3 separate regions of the Homo sapiens genome follow, and all the other regions are linked to region 1. The links are contacts of gene promoters, found by promoter capture Hi-C in blood cells and fetal thymus (Javierre and others, 2016). All regions are on one chromosome and are shown on one strand. The core of a region is centred on a gene start or on the middle of the fragment in contact, and the rest is flanking DNA. Distances in the headings are between cores, read along the strand shown.

Region 1 (4,890 bases), core at 221-2,720:
CATCCAGGCTGGAGTGCAGTGGCTTGATCTTGGCTCACTGCAACCTCTGCCTCCCGTGTTCAAGTGATTCTCCTGCCTCAGCCTCTCTAGTAGCTGGGATTACACGCTTGTGCCACCACGCCCGGCTAATTTTTGTATTATTAGTAGAGACGGGGTTTCACCATGTTGGCCACGCTGGTCTCAAACTCCTGACCTTAGGTGATCCGCCCGCTTCAGCCTCCCAAAGTGCTGGGATTACAGGCATGTGCCACTGTGCCTGGCCCAGGAACTCTTTTTTTTTTTTTGAGACAAGGTCTTGCTGTGTCATCCAGGCATGAATGCAGTGGTGCGATCATGGCTTATTGCAGCCTCCACATCCCAGGCTCAAGCAATCCTTGTACCACAGCTTCCCAAAGAGCTGGGACTACAGGTGCATGCCACTACACTCTGCTAATTTTTTTTTTTTTTTTTTGAGATGGAGTTTTGCTCCTGTTGCCCAGGCTGGAGTGCAATGATACGATCTCGGCTCACCACAACCTCCGCCTCCCGAGTTCAAGCAATTCTCCTGCCTCAGCCTCCCTAGTAGCTGGGATTACAGGCATGTGCCACCGCGCCAGCTAATTTTGTATTTTTAGTAGAGCCGGGGTTTCTCCATGTTGGTCAGGCTGGTCTCGAACTCCTGACCTCAGATGATCCGCCTGCCTTAGCCTCCCAAAGTGCTGGGATTACAGGCGTGAGCCACTGCATCCGGTCTTTTTTTTTTTTTTGAGACATAGTATCGCTCTGTCGCCCAGGCTGGAGTGCAGTGGCATGATCTCGGCTCACTGCAAGCTCCGCCTCCCGGGTTCATGCCATTCTCCTGCCTCGGCCTCCCGAGTCGCTGGGACTACAGGTGCCCACGCACCACGCCTGGCTAATTATTTGGTATTTTTTGTAGAGTCAGGGTCTCCCATGTTGCCCAGGCTGGTCTCGAACTCCTGGGTTCAAGCAATCCTCCTGCCTCGGCCTCCCAAAGTGTTAGGATTACAGGCCTGAGCAACTAACTGCACCCTGGCCCAATAACATTTCTAAGTCAAGTTCTGCAAGAACTCAGCACCAGTGGTGGTTTGAAGCCACATGACAAGTGATTAAGAGTGTGGCCTCTACTTTGTGACCTGGCAAACCATATCACCTCCCTCAGTTCATTCATCAGCAAATTGGGCAGAAAACATCCCTTGCCTCAGGAGCTAATATGCACAGGGTGCTGAATGCTGACTTTTTGCCCACCAATCCCGCTGAGGAGGGCAATATTGTGTATCTCATTTTACAAATGGGGAAACTGGGCCCCAGAGAGGTTGAGTTTCTCACTCAAGGTCACACAGCCAGGAAGCAGCACAGTGAGAATTTGAACCCAGCATCCTGGCCCCAAGCCCAAGCTCTCAGCTACCGGCCTGACCACCTTAGCGACTGGTGGAGATGCTCCTCCACAGCCACCTCTCACGAGATGACAGTCATGCTCAGAGTTGGCTGATCTCCAAGGGTAGTCTCATAACTGCTTTACACTGGGCCTCTCAAGGTGTACCTGACGTCTATTGAGCACCTACTGTGTGTCAAAGCCTGAGCTTGGCTGGGCACCGTGGCTCATGCCTGTAATCCTAGCATTTTGGAAGGCTGAGTCAGGCAGATCACTTGAGGCCAGGAGTTTGAGACCAGCCTGGCCAACATGGCGAAACCTCGTCTCTACTAAAGGAAAAAAAAAAAAAAAAAAAAAAAAAAAAATATATATATATATATATATATATATATATATACACACACACACACACACACACACACACACACACACACACACACACAAAAGAAATTAGCTGGGCATGGTGGCACATGCCTATAATTCCAGCTACTCAGGAGGCAAGGTTGCAGTGAGCTGAGATTGTGCCACTGCACTATAGCCTGAGCAACAGAGTGAGATTCCATTAAAAAAAAAAAATTAGCTGGGCATGGTGGCAGGCACCTGTAATCCCAGTTACTTGGGAGGCTGAGACAGGAGAATCACTTGAATCCCGGAGGCAGAGGTTGCAGTGGGCCGAGATCATGCCATTGCATTCCAGCCTGGGTGACAGAGGGAGACTCTGTCTCAATAAAAATATAAATAAATAAAGGCCAGGTGACTCATGCCTGTAATCCCAGCACTTTGGGAGGCTGAGGCGGGCAGACCACGAGGTCTGGAGATCGAGACCATCCTGACCAACATGGTGAAACCCTGTCTCTACCAAAAATAAAAAAATTAGCTGGGCATGGTGGTCCTAGCTACTCAGGAGGCTGAGGCAGGAGAATTGCTTAAACCTGGGAGGCAGAGGTTGCAGTGAGCCGAGATTGCATCACTACACTCCAGCCTAGCAACAGAGTGAGACTCCATCTCAAAAAAAAAAAAAAAAAATTAGACAGGTGTGGTGGCATGCACCTGTAGTCCCAGCTACTCAGGAGGCTGAGGCAGGAGAACCGCTTGAACCCGGGAAGCAGAGGTTGCAGTGAGCTGAGATCATGCCACACTCCAGCCTGGGTGACAGAACGAGACTCCGTCTCAAAAAAAAAAAAAAAAAAAGCCTGAGCTTAATGCATGTCCACATTAATGCATAATGCATCTCCTTCATCCTCATCCTAATCACCCACTGGACAGAAGTAGAAACTGAGGCACAGAGAAGTCACACATCTCACTCAAAGTCACACCAAGGTTAGAAAAGTCAGATTCAAATCTATGCGGTCCTGTACCAAAACCTGGGGCCTTAACCAAGATGCCCTACTCAGGCCTCATACCTCCTATCCCCACCTGACTCCTCACCTCATGGGTACTATTTCGCTTAGTGCCTAAGGTCTTGATCAGAACCTGGTTGGACTCCGTCCCCAGCTGCCGCAGGTCCCACAAGTTGACGTTGCGATCTCGGGAGCCCGACAGACAGAGTGACCCACCCTGGAAAGGGAGCAAGGTGATGTTGTCAGGGCCACCCTGGCCCACCCTGCCTGGCCCCCCACAGACCCCGTCTCACCTGGAGCAGCAGCACTGAGTCAACGGAAGCCACGTGGCCTTCGGCCAGGCAGAAGTATTCGACCCAGCGCCCATCCTCTGCCCAGCGGGACAGGTGCTGCTCCAGCGCAATGCAGGCTGCCGGCCAGTCAAAGTTCTTCTCTGTGGGTTACCACGAGTAGGGTGCCCAGTGGGCAGGGACCCTAGCACCCATGCCAGCTGGCCAAGCCCAACCCTGGCTTCCAGGGAGCCCACACTACACCAGACTTGGACAGAACCCCATGGAGATCCCTACTCCCACCCCAAGCCGACCCAGGCTGTGGTCTTGGGACCACCTGCCTGCCCATTTCCCAGGCAGGTCTAGGACTACTCACTCCAATTTCCAGAAATTGGGAACTGGGGTCTCAGAACTACCTCTCCAGGCGCCATCCCCCAACCCAAACTCAGGGCAGAGCAGTCTCAGGATGTTGAGGTCTGACCTCAGGCTCAGCATAGAAGCTGGGACCTCATGACTAACCCTTCCTGCCTCAGCCATCTGAACCAGACCAAGGGGGCTGTTTCTCAAACAGTATCTGGAAACCAGGGAGCCTTGTCAAGATGCAGAATGCAAGCCCCAGATGCAGATTCTGTGATATGGACGGGGTCCAAGCATCTATGTTTATTAAGCTGTTTGGGAGAGTCTGACCTGGGGGTTGGATGGCAACACCTTGAGAATCACTGATCCCGGAGTGATCCTGATTCCTCTCTAAGCAGAATCAAAGCTTCCAGGTTAAGGGTATCAAACACCCAAGCTGTAATACATCTTGGCTTAAGGGCCTGAGGATCCAGCTGTATCAGGATCAACAATATCGATTCAAAGGTCCCAAGCTGTCTTCCCTCAGGAACCAATCAACTCAGGGCCAAGAGCCACTGTCTCACCCCTAACTGGGTCAAGGCTCTAGGGCTCAGGAGTTTTGACATCAACAGGTGCTGTCTCAGCTTCTAAGCTGGACTCAGAACCTGAGGATCCTTGGGCTCACTTTGAGCCCCAGCATAAACTCCAGAGCCTAAGACTTCAAGTCCCTGTGTCAATCCCCAATCAGGGGTCAGTGGCTTAGTACCACAAGACCCCAAGACTGAGGATATTTGGATCCTGAGTCGTCCAGGAACCACAGCCCCATGTTAGGGTTTCACAGCCTCAGGACCCCAAGTGCCTGACTGCCTCGTGGTCCACCCAGAGGTCCTCAGGGGCTTCGGCACCACCAGTAACTACCTTAGCCTCCAGCCTGAGCCAGGACAGCCACGAAGCCTGCACCAGAGGCTGCATCCGGAACACCCCATGTACCTCTTCCCCGCCCCAAGCCTGACCTGGGCGGGCGCCCCCGGCCCCCGGTCCCCGGCCCCCGGCCCCGCGCACCTTCCACCACTGGGTAGGGCGCGCGTACGCGGCGTAGCGCGCGTAGCCTCCAGGTGACATGGTCAGACACGAGGTCGCGGAGCGCGTGGCACACCCGCGACAGGACGTGGAGCACGAGGCGGGCGTCCAGGTAGGAGCAGATCTCGAGCAGCAGCTCCGGGGGAAGGCTCAGAAGGCCCGGCTCACTTACGGCCGAAACCCTGGACGCGGCCCGAGGCTCCGAAGCGCTCGGGGACGCGGCGGGTGTGGATAGCTGCGAGGGGCGCGAGAACGCCAGCCCGGATTTTGGCGGACTGAGAACGCGGGCCACGTAGGCCTTGGCCTGCGCGTCTGGGTCTGTCTCTGACTCTGGGTCCGAGTCATCGTCCCAGGTGCGGGAATCATCGCACCGCCCTAGGGGAAGCTCCATTGCGACCGGGTGGGCGCTGCCGGCCTCGCGTCTTGTCTCCTAGGCAGCACGAGGGCACTTCCGGCGCTGTCTGATGACGTTTATGCGCCCACCGGAAGCGAC
Region 2 (4,561 bases), core at 1,002-3,501, 190 kb after region 1:
TTAAAAAAAGAAGGCAGGCCCCACGCAGTGTAATCCCAGCACTTTGGGAAGCCGAGGAGGGCGGATCACCTGAGGTCGGGAGTTCAAGACCAGCCTGGCCAACATGGAGAAACCTCATCACTACTAAAAATACAACATTAGCCGGGCATGGTGGTGCATGCCTGTAATCCCAGCTACTCGGGAGGCTGATGCAGGAGAATCACTTGAACCCAGGAGGCGGAGGTTGCAGTGAGCCGAGATTGCACCATTGCACTCCAGCCTGGGTAGCAAGAGCAAAACTCCTTCTCAAAAAAAAAAAAAAAAAAAAGGCAATTAGAGGGTATTGCTCCAGGCCTCCCAGCAAGCTCATCTGCAATCAGGAACACCCTCAGTTTGCAGCGGGGCTTAGAGAGGGTGCCAGCAGTGTTAGAACCACAGCTGAGCTCAGTTTTTGCAGGCATAAATTCTTATAGTCCAGAATAACGCCAAGAGTAATGTAAGGTAGGGAAACAGGCCAGGTGTGGCGGCTCATGCCGGTAATCGCAGCACATTAAGAGGCCAAGGTGGGTGGATTGCTTGAACCAGGACTTAGAGACCAGCCTAGGCAACATGGCAAAAGCCCACTCTACAAAAATACAAAAAGTAGGCCAGGTGTGGTGGCTCACGCCTGTAATCCCAGCACTTTGGGAGGCCAAGGCAGGTGGATCACCTGAGGTCAGGAGTTCAATATCAGCCTGTCCAACCTGGTAAAACCCCATCTCTACTAAAACATACAACATTTAGCTGGGCATGGTGGCGCACACCTGTAATCCCAGCTACTCCAGAGGCTGAGGCAGAAGAATCGCTTGAACTGGGGAGATGGAGATTGCAGTGAGCTGAGATTGCACCACCGAACTCCAGCCTGGGTGATGGAGAGAGAGTGCCGCAAAAAAAAAAAAAAAAAAAAAAAGCCAGGCGTGGTGGGGGGTACCGGCAGGCCCAGTACTTGGGAGGCTGAGGTAGGAGGATCACCTGAGCCCTGGGAGGTCAAGGCTGCAGTGAGCTGTGATACTGCACTCCAGCCTAGGTGACTGGGTGAGACCTTGTCTAAAAGAAAATAAAATAGGGGAAATAGATGCCCAAGGTCTGACAGGGGAGATCTCCCACCCCACTATGGAGGTCAGGGGTTAGCTTGGAAAAATGCATAGGAACTCGGCTGGGCAGGGTGGCTCATTCCTGTAATCCCAGCACTTTGGGAGGCCAAGGCGGGTAGATCACTTGAGGTAGAAACCAGGAGTTCGAGACCAGCCTGGCCAACATGGTGAAACCTCGTCTGTACTAAAAATATGAAAATTAGCCTGGTGTGATGGTGCGCCTTTAATACCAGCTACTTGGGAGGCTGAGACAGGAGAATTGCTTCAACCCCAGAGGCAGAGATTGCAGTGAGCCAAGATTGTGCCACTGCACTCCAGCTTGGGTGACAGAGCGAACTCCCACCGTCTCAAAAACAAAGAAAAAAAAAAGTTGGGGGGAATAGATGCCCAGGGTCTGACAGTGCAGATCTCCCCGACCACCCCATGCACGTCAGGGGTTACCTTGGAAAAATGGGACCCGAGTCTCTCCCCAGCCCCCAATCCAGGCCTCACCCTTCGTGTGCCCACGCATGGAAGAGTCCTGAGCCTTGCTGGGTTGAGGCGGTTGGTCATTGTAGAGCAGGAAGGCGAGCTGCGGGCGGATAAACGGAGGCAACGTGAAATTCCTCCCAGGCAGGGCAGCCCTAGAGTTTCGCCCCTAGTTGGCCCGGGGCCCCCTTCACCTGGCTGGTGTTGCTCCGGTACAGCGGCTGCAGGCTTCGGCCCACGGCCCCCTCCGGGCTGTTGATGAGTGCCCTGCCGTCCCGCCAGCCTCCGGAGCTCTCGTCCAGATACTTGTACTGCAGCCCTCTCTGCGCCGCCTCCCCGGACCCTCTAAGAGCTGGCAGCTTGTAGACCACGAACCTGGAGGTCGGAGAATGCACAGAAATAGGAGAGAGGGAAGAGAAGGCACCCCAGGGTTCCCCGAGGAGGTAGCCATCCCGGTTGAGTGACCGCAGCCGGACCCCGGGGCGATGGTAGGCCCCCCGCTGCGCACTCACCAGTCTACAGGCTGCCCGGAGTCCCCGTAGCAGGTCAGGGCCCCGGCGGGGACGCACAGCAGCGCTGCCAGCAGCAGCGGGATCATAGCTGCTATGGGGCTGAGATCCAGGAATCTGTGTCGGGACTGCGGGGCGCTGGGTTACATCAGAGGCCAGGACTGGCACCTGGCGCCTTTCACTTCCCTAAACTTGCCTGGGAACCGGGGCGGGGACATCACGAGGGTACAGACTCCTCCCCCGAGACGCGATGCTGCGTTTTGGAGAGGCAAAAGGCAACGCTGAGTCTGCCCAGACCACGCCCACGACGGGCCCGGCGCTCCAGCGTCTCCTGGAGCCTGGCCACCGTTCCTTTTCGTGGTAGCTAATCCCAGCCCACGCTCTTCTGTCTGACCCAACTCCCGCCCGGGTTTCTGGATCAGGCACAAGTTTGTATTTTATTTTTTATTCCAGCCCTACAACCTGGGTCCAACTCTTGGGACCTTTGTTCTTCCTCTTTTTTTTTTTTTTTTTTTTTTTTTTTTTTTGAGACGGAGTTTCACTCTTGTCGCCCAGGCTGGAGTGCAATGGCACGATCTCGGTTCACTGCAACCTCCGCCTTCCTGATTAAAGCGATTATCCTGCCTCAGCCTCCCGAGTAGCTGGGATTACAGGCGCCCGACACCACGCCCGGCTAATTTTTGTAGTTTTAGTAGAGACGGGGTTTTTCCATGTTGACTAGGCTGGTCTCGAACTCCTGACCTCGTGATCCACCAGCCTCGGCCCCCGAAAGTGCCAAGATTGCAGAAGTGAGCCACTGCGCCCCTTAAGAAGCATTTGTGTTCCAGTGTATCTTCCCCTTTTTCTTTCTTTTTTTTTTTCCTTCCTTTTTTTTTTTTTTTTTTCCCGGACAATATCTCGCTCTGTTGCCCAGGCCGGAGTGCAGTGGCGCAATCTTGGCTCACTGCAACCTCTGCCTCCCCAGCTCAAGTGATCCTCTCACCTCAGCCTCCCGAGTAGCTGGGATCACGGGCACATGCCACTATGCCCAGCTAATTTTTGTAGTTTTTTTTTTGAAACACGGTTTCACCATGTGGCTCAGGCTGAACTCCTGAGCTCAAGGGATCCACCTGTCTTGCCTCCCAAAGTGCTGGGATTACAGGCATGTAATCCACGCCACCCAGACTCTCCTTTTTCATTCTGCACGTTTTCTCCAGGATCCCCTGAGCTAGCAAAGAGGTGACTGTATGTTTGTTTTTTGTCGTTTTGAGACAGGATAATGGTTTCTCACCCAGGCTAGAATGCAGTGACTCCATCACAGTTCACTGCAGCCTCAACCTACTGGGCTCAAGAGATCTTCCCAGGTAGCTGGTACTACAGGCCTGTGCCACCACACCCAGATAATTGTTCATTGCAGAGATGAGGGTCTCACTATGTTGCCCAGGCTGCTCTGGAACTCCGGGGTTCAAGTGATTCTCCCACCTCAGCCTCAAAGGATCATGGCAGGGCAAAGGGCTATGGGAATCTGAGTACTGGCTTGAAACTGCCTTTGCAAAAATTATGACAGAAAATTATGTCAGTGAAAGAGCTCTGACCTAACCAACTCCATCTTGCCTTTAATCTCCAAACTGCCCTTGCTTGGTCATTCCTGGAGTGGGGTCAAGCTAACTTTTTTTTTTTTTTTGACACGTTGTCTCACTCTGTCGCCCAGGCTGGAGTCCAGTGGTGTGATCTCAGCTCACTGCAACATCCGCCTCCTAGGTTCAAGCAATCCTCCTGCCTCAGCTTCCTGAGTAGCTGGGATTACAGGCATGCGCCACATGCCCAGCTAATTTTTGTATTTTTGGTAGAGACTGGGTTTCACCATTTTTGGTAGAGATGGGGTTTCACCTTGGGGCTCAGGCTGGTGTCGAACTCCTGGGCTCAAGTGATCTGCCCGCCTCAGCCTGCCAAATTGCTGGGATTAAAGAGGGAGCCACCATGCCTGGCCCCAAGCTAATTTTGGGAGGAATTTAGTTTATAGCTTAAATGATAATAGCCCTTCCCCAAACTAAACTGCCTTTGTAGAAATAATGAAAGGGCACTAGGTTAGGAGGATGAGAGGAGCCTGAATTCTGCTAAACTGTAGGTGTAGTAGTTAAATTATGACCAGCCATTTTTCCGGCCGGGTGCGGTGCCTCACGCCTGTAATCCCAGCACTTTGAGAGGCCGAGGCTGGCAGATTACCTGAGGTCAGGATTTCGAAACCAGCCTGGCCAGCATTTCGAAACCCCATCTCTTCTAAAAATACAAAAATTAGCCCGGCATGGTGGCATGTGCCTGTAATCCTAGCTACCTGGTAGGCTGACACAGGAGAATCACTTGAACCCAGGAGGCAGAGGTTGCAGTGAGCCAAGATGGAACAACTGCACTCCAGCCTGGGCAAGAGCAAGACTCCATCTCAAAAACAAAAACAAAGATGGCCAGCCATTATTCTGGAGGTCACAAGGTTTG
Region 3 (5,034 bases), core at 597-3,096, 230 kb after region 1:
CTGCCTCTGGGGTTCAAGCGATTCTCCTGCCTTAGCCTCCCGAGTAGCTGGGACTACAGGCGTGCACCACAACACCCAGCTAACTTCTGTATTTTTAGTAGAGACGGGGTTTCATCATGTTAGCCAGGATGGTCTCCATCTCTTGACCTTTTGATCCACCCCCCTCGGCCTCCCAAAGTGCTAGGATTACAGGCATAAGCCACCATTCCTGGCTTTTTTTTTTTTTTTTTGAGACAGCGTTTCGGTCTTTTTGCCCAGGCTGGAGTGCAATGGCGCCATCTCAGCTCACTGCAACCTCCACCTCCTGGGTTCAAGCGATTCTCCTGCCTCAGCCTCCTGAGTAGCTGGGATTACAGGCATGTGCCACTATGCCCAGCTAATTTTGTATTTTTAGTAGAGACGGGGTTTCTCCATGTTTGTCAGGCTGGTCTCAAACTCCCGACCTTAGGTGATCCACCCGCCTTGGCCTCCCAAAGTGTTGGGATTACAGGTGTGAACCACTGCACCTGGCCAATATTTTTTAATAAATTGGCCCGACATTCTGGCCCGCCTCTAGTCCCAGCCATTTCGGAGGCTGAGGTGGGAGGATCACTTGAGTCTGGGAGGTGGAGGTTGCAGTGAGCCGTGATCATGCCACTGCGTGGTGACAAAGCAAGACGCTGTGTTAGGAGGGAAAAAAAAAGCAGCAGACACTGGCATAGCCTTGTGGAAGAAAAGGGTGAATGAGAGGGACCCAGGGGCCTGTGTAGACCCATAGGGCTGGGATCTTCCTCACCTAGCTGGCCCTCCACCAGCTTCCTCCTCGCAGTTCTCTTCCCACCGCGGATGCTCCTTGCTCTCCCCCAAGGGCTGCGGTTCCTGGTCTTTGCATTTCACATGGGGCACGTCCACCTGCAAGCACAGTCAGGACGGAGGCCAAGGAGGGAGGATGAGGAGTGAACAGATCGCCCTCCTGCCGACCCTTCAACCCTGGTCACCTCGATGTGCTGCTGCGGGACGGTGGGGACCCGCAGGAAAGACGGGCAGGGCTGGGGCAGGTGCCATGAGGGCAGGGGCATGGGGTGAAAGGACACTCTGTCCCTAGGGGACACCAGGACACCAGACCTAGAGGGGCCGGGTGAGGGCAGGGCTGTGGGAATGTAACTGGAGGACCTGGGCTCCTAACTGGTATGTGTGTTGGCTGGAGTCCTTCGAGAAAGGAGAAGAGGTAGGAGAAAAGAGATGAGGCCGGGCGCGGTGGCTCACGCCTGTAATCCCAGCACTTTGGGAGGCGGAGGCGGGCGGATCACGAGGTCAGGAGTGCGAGAACAGCCTGAGCAATATGGTGAAACCCCGTCTCTACTAAAAATACAAAAATTAGCTGACGTGGTGGTGCGTGCCTGTAATCCCAGCTACTCGGGAGGCTGAGGAAGGAGAATCACTTGAACCCGGGAGGCAGAGGTTGCAGTGAGCCGAGATCACGCCACTGCACTCCAGACTGGGCGACAGAGTGATACTTCGTCTCAAAAAAAAAAAAAAAAAGAAATGAAAGAAACGGGTGCGGTGCGTGGGTGTTTGTGCCTTTCTCTACTCCGTTCCGGCCACGCGCCATGTGTGGAAATCAGACCCGTCAGTGCGTCAGTCAGGGCCGGGTTCAGTCAGTCAGGAAATTTGAGGCCAGGCCTGATGAGAGGGAGCCCCAATGGCAAAGGACAAGCGGCCGGGCTCGGGTCCGCTGGAGATGGCTGGGATCGCAGCCGTTCCCTGCCTATCTGTCCGCCCGCCCCACGCGCGAGAAGGAAACAAGCGCCGCGTACTCCCTGTCGCTCCATTCCGTATTTTCCCGCCTTCAAGCTCGCACCCTCTGCGCATGCGCCGACCCCGCCCCTGGCCAGCTGCGCTCCCGCGGACGAGTGTGTTGTGACGCGTGCTCCCGGCCCCGCCCTCTTTGAGAACTTGCGCGGCCAACTGGGCGGGGCCGACCGTTAAGCAGCAGTTTCGCGGTCCGCGGGCTGCGCGCGCAGTCGGCGCCCCTTGGGAGCAGGACGGCGCGCTCTGGGTGCGCTTGTGTGCCCCTGTGAGGCTCCTGGGTTCCACGGGGCGCCCAGGTTATACGGATCTCAGAGTCCTGTATTTATTCGGTGCTTCTAACTTCATCCACTCTGCCTTGGAAAATATACTCCATAACAATTTTTTTTTTTTTTTGAGACAAGATCTTGGTCTGTCGCCCAGGCTGGAGTGCAGTGGTGCGATCACAGCTCACTGTAGCCTCGACCTCCCAGGTTCAAGCGATCCTCCTGCCTCGGCCTCCTGAGTAGCAGTGTCATTCACCAGGCCCTTCTAATTTAAAAATATTTTTCTGGCCGGGCGCGGTGGCTCACGCCTGTAATCCCAGCACTTTGGGAGGCCGAGGCGGGTGGATCACCTGAGGTCATGAGTTCGAGACCAGCCTAGCCAACATGGTGAAACTGTCTCTACTAAAAATACAAAAAATAGCCGGGCGTGGTGGCGGGCGCCTATAGTCCCAGCTACTCGGGAGGCTGGGGCAGGAGAATTGCTTAAACCCAGGACGCAGAGGTTGCAGTGAGCTGAGATCATGCCACTGCACTCCAGCCGGGGTGACAGAGTAAAGCTCCGTCTCAAAAAAAAAAAAAAGATTGTATGTATATATACACACACACACACACACACACACACACATAATTATATTTTTTTTTCCTGTAGAAATGAGATCTCACTGTGCTGAGCCCAGGCTGATCCCCAACTCCTGGGCTCAAGCCGTCCTCCCGTCTTGGTCTCCCAAAGTGCTGTCTCAAAAAAAGAAGAAATTATCTGATCTACCCTATTGACTGTAGGTCATAAGACCCCCGTTTCAAAGAAGTTTCTGCCCCACACAAGGCCTATCTATCTAGATTCTTCTTGGCCTCTCTGAGCATGCATTCCTGAGACTCCAAGAAGAATCTAGACAGATAGGCCTTGCTGGGTTTCCCCACTCAGCCTATTAGTATTAGACGACCCCCCCGGCTTTTTTTTTTTTTTTTTTTTTTTGTCTTGCTCTGTTGTCCAGGCAACACTGGAGTGCAGTGGCAAGATCTCAACTCGCTGCAACCTTGGCCTCCCAGGTTCAAGCGATTCTCAGCCAACCAAGTAGCTGGGATTACAGATGCACCATGCCCAGCTAATTTTTGTATTTTTAGTAGAGATGGGGTTTTTCCATGTTGCTCAGGCTGGTCTCAAACTCCTGGCCTCAAGTGATCCACCCGCCTCAGCCTCCCAAAGTGTCAGGATTACAAGTATGAACCACGACAAACCCTTTTTGTCCAATCAAATTTCTACCTGGGTGTTCAAACTTTGCTGAACCTAAGCATAAGACACTTTTCATTAATCAGGCATGGTGGCGGGCACCTGTAATCCCAGCTGCTTGGGAAGCTGAGGCTGCTGTGAGCCAAGATCGCCCCTACACTCCAGCCCAGGGAACAGAGCCAGACTCCGTCTCAAAACAAAACAAAACAAAAACACAGTTTCCCCTGTATCTCTGGATCTTCATTCTGAAGGCTTGTCAGGTAACACTATGATCAAATACATTCGTATTCCTTTTCTCTTATTAATCTGCCTTTTCTCAGTAATTTTTAGTGAAACTTCAGAGGGCAATAAGGAAGCTTTCTCTTCACCCCTACACAGCCAAAGTTCAGATTTGATGGAAATGGCAAGATTCCAGGGTACTTGTGTTTATTTAGACACATAAATATGTATTTAACGACAGGGTCTCACTCTGTTGCCCAGGCTGGAGTGCAGTGGTGTAATCACGGCTCATTGCAGCCTCGACCTCCCAGGCTCAAGTGATCAACCTCAGTCTCTGGAGTACCTGGGATTACAGGCATGAGCCACTATGCTGAGCTAATTTTTGTTTTCTGTTTTTGGGGGACAGGTCTCACTCTGTGGCCCAGACTGGAGTGCAGTGGTGTGATCTCAGCTCCCTACAACCTCCACCTCCTGGGTTCAAGTGATTCTCCCACCTCAGCCTCCCAGATAGCTGGGACTACAGGTGCCTGCCATCATGCCTGCTAATTTTTGTTTTTTGTTTTTTTTTTTGGAACAGAGTCTTCTTCTGTCACCCAGGCTGTAGTGCAGTGGCACAATCTTGGCTCACTGCAACCTCCACCTCCTGGTTCAAACGATTCTCGTGCCTCAGCCTCCCGGGTAGCTGGGACTACAGGTGCTCACCACCACGCCCAGCTTTTTTTTTGTATTTTTAGTAGAGACGGGTTTTCACCACGTTGGCCAGGCTGCTCTCGAACTCCTGACCTCAAGTGATCTGCCTGCCTCAGCTTCCCAAAGTGTTGGAATTACAGGCGTGAGCCACCACGCCCAGCCTAATTTTTTTTTTTTTTTTTTTGAGACGGAGTCTTGCTCTATTGCCCAGGCTGGAGTGCAGTGGTGCGATCTCCGCTCACTGCAAGCTCCGCCTCCCAGGTTCACACCATTCTCCTGCCTCAGCCTCCTGAGTAGCTGGGACTACAGGCACCCGCCACCACGCCCGGCTAATTTTTTGTATTTTTAGTAGACAGGGTTTCACCATGTTGGCCAGGATGGTCTCAATCTCTTGACCTCATGATCCACACGCCTCAGCCTCCCAAAGTGCTGGGATTACAGGCATGAGCCACCGCACCCAGCCCTAATTTTTTTATTTTTAGTAGAGATGGGGTTTCACCACGTTGGCCAGGCTGCTCCTGAATTCCTGACCTCAAGTGACCCACCCACCTTGGCCTCCCAAAAGTTCTGGGATTACAGAAGTGAGCCACTGTGCCTGGCTCAGTACCCATACTTTTTTTTTTTTTTTTTGTATTTTTAGTAGAGACGGGGTTTCACCCTGTTAGCCAGGATGGTCTCGATCGCCTGGCCTCGTGACCCGCCCGCCTCAGCCTCCCAAAGTGCTGCGATTACAGACGCGGGCCACCTCGCCCAGCCCAGTACCCAGAATTTTGACCATCAAGTGGCACACTGAGCTAGGGGGACCCAACAAGACCCCTCACCCCTAAGGAAAGCCACCAGATG

Evidence for each region. The method cuts DNA at HindIII sites, captures the fragments that hold promoters and counts their contacts. A CHiCAGO score of 5 or more calls a contact.
Region 2: a contact is called between the fragment with the promoter of DNASE2 here and a fragment that was not itself captured in region 1, in 4 of 17 cell types (erythroblasts, activated CD4 T cells, M1 macrophages and 1 more). The highest score is 6.3, in erythroblasts.
Region 3: a contact is called between the fragment with the promoter of SYCE2 here and a fragment that was not itself captured in region 1, in 3 of 17 cell types (neutrophils, M1 macrophages and naive CD8 T cells). The highest score is 5.6, in neutrophils.

What each region holds. Positions count from the first base shown.
Region 1 is chr19:12,691,794-12,696,683 of GRCh38, forward strand. FBXW9 (F-box and WD repeat domain containing 9) reads right to left here and starts at 4,838. Exons shown (of 10, transcript NM_032301.3): 1 at 4,380-4,838; 2 at 3,006-3,145; 3 at 2,801-2,929. The coding sequence starts at 4,788. RefSeq lists an enhancer at 4,748-4,797. The HindIII fragment of the contact is 4,543 bases long and covers 1-3,742 here.
Region 2 is chr19:12,879,198-12,883,758 of GRCh38, forward strand. It overlaps DNASE2 (deoxyribonuclease 2, lysosomal), which reads right to left and starts at 2,252. Exons shown (of 6, transcript NM_001375.3): 1 at 2,093-2,252; 2 at 1,775-1,955; 3 at 1,605-1,683. The coding sequence starts at 2,178. RefSeq lists enhancers at 1,783-2,410, 2,070-2,179 and cis regulatory regions at 2,074-2,634, 3,374-3,874, 4,414-4,561. The HindIII fragment of the contact is 8,211 bases long and covers 1-4,561 here.
Region 3 is chr19:12,917,447-12,922,480 of GRCh38, forward strand. It overlaps SYCE2 (synaptonemal complex central element protein 2), which reads right to left and starts at 1,847. Exons shown (of 6, transcript NM_001105578.2): 1 at 1,797-1,847; 2 at 776-891. The coding sequence starts at 1,811. It overlaps MIR5695 (microRNA 5695), which reads left to right and starts at 2,874; the gene lies at 2,874-2,958. FARSA (phenylalanyl-tRNA synthetase subunit alpha) reads right to left here. Exons shown (of 13, transcript NM_004461.3): 13 at 5,033-5,034. RefSeq lists an enhancer at 1,527-1,666. The HindIII fragment of the contact is 4,677 bases long and covers 1-3,636 here.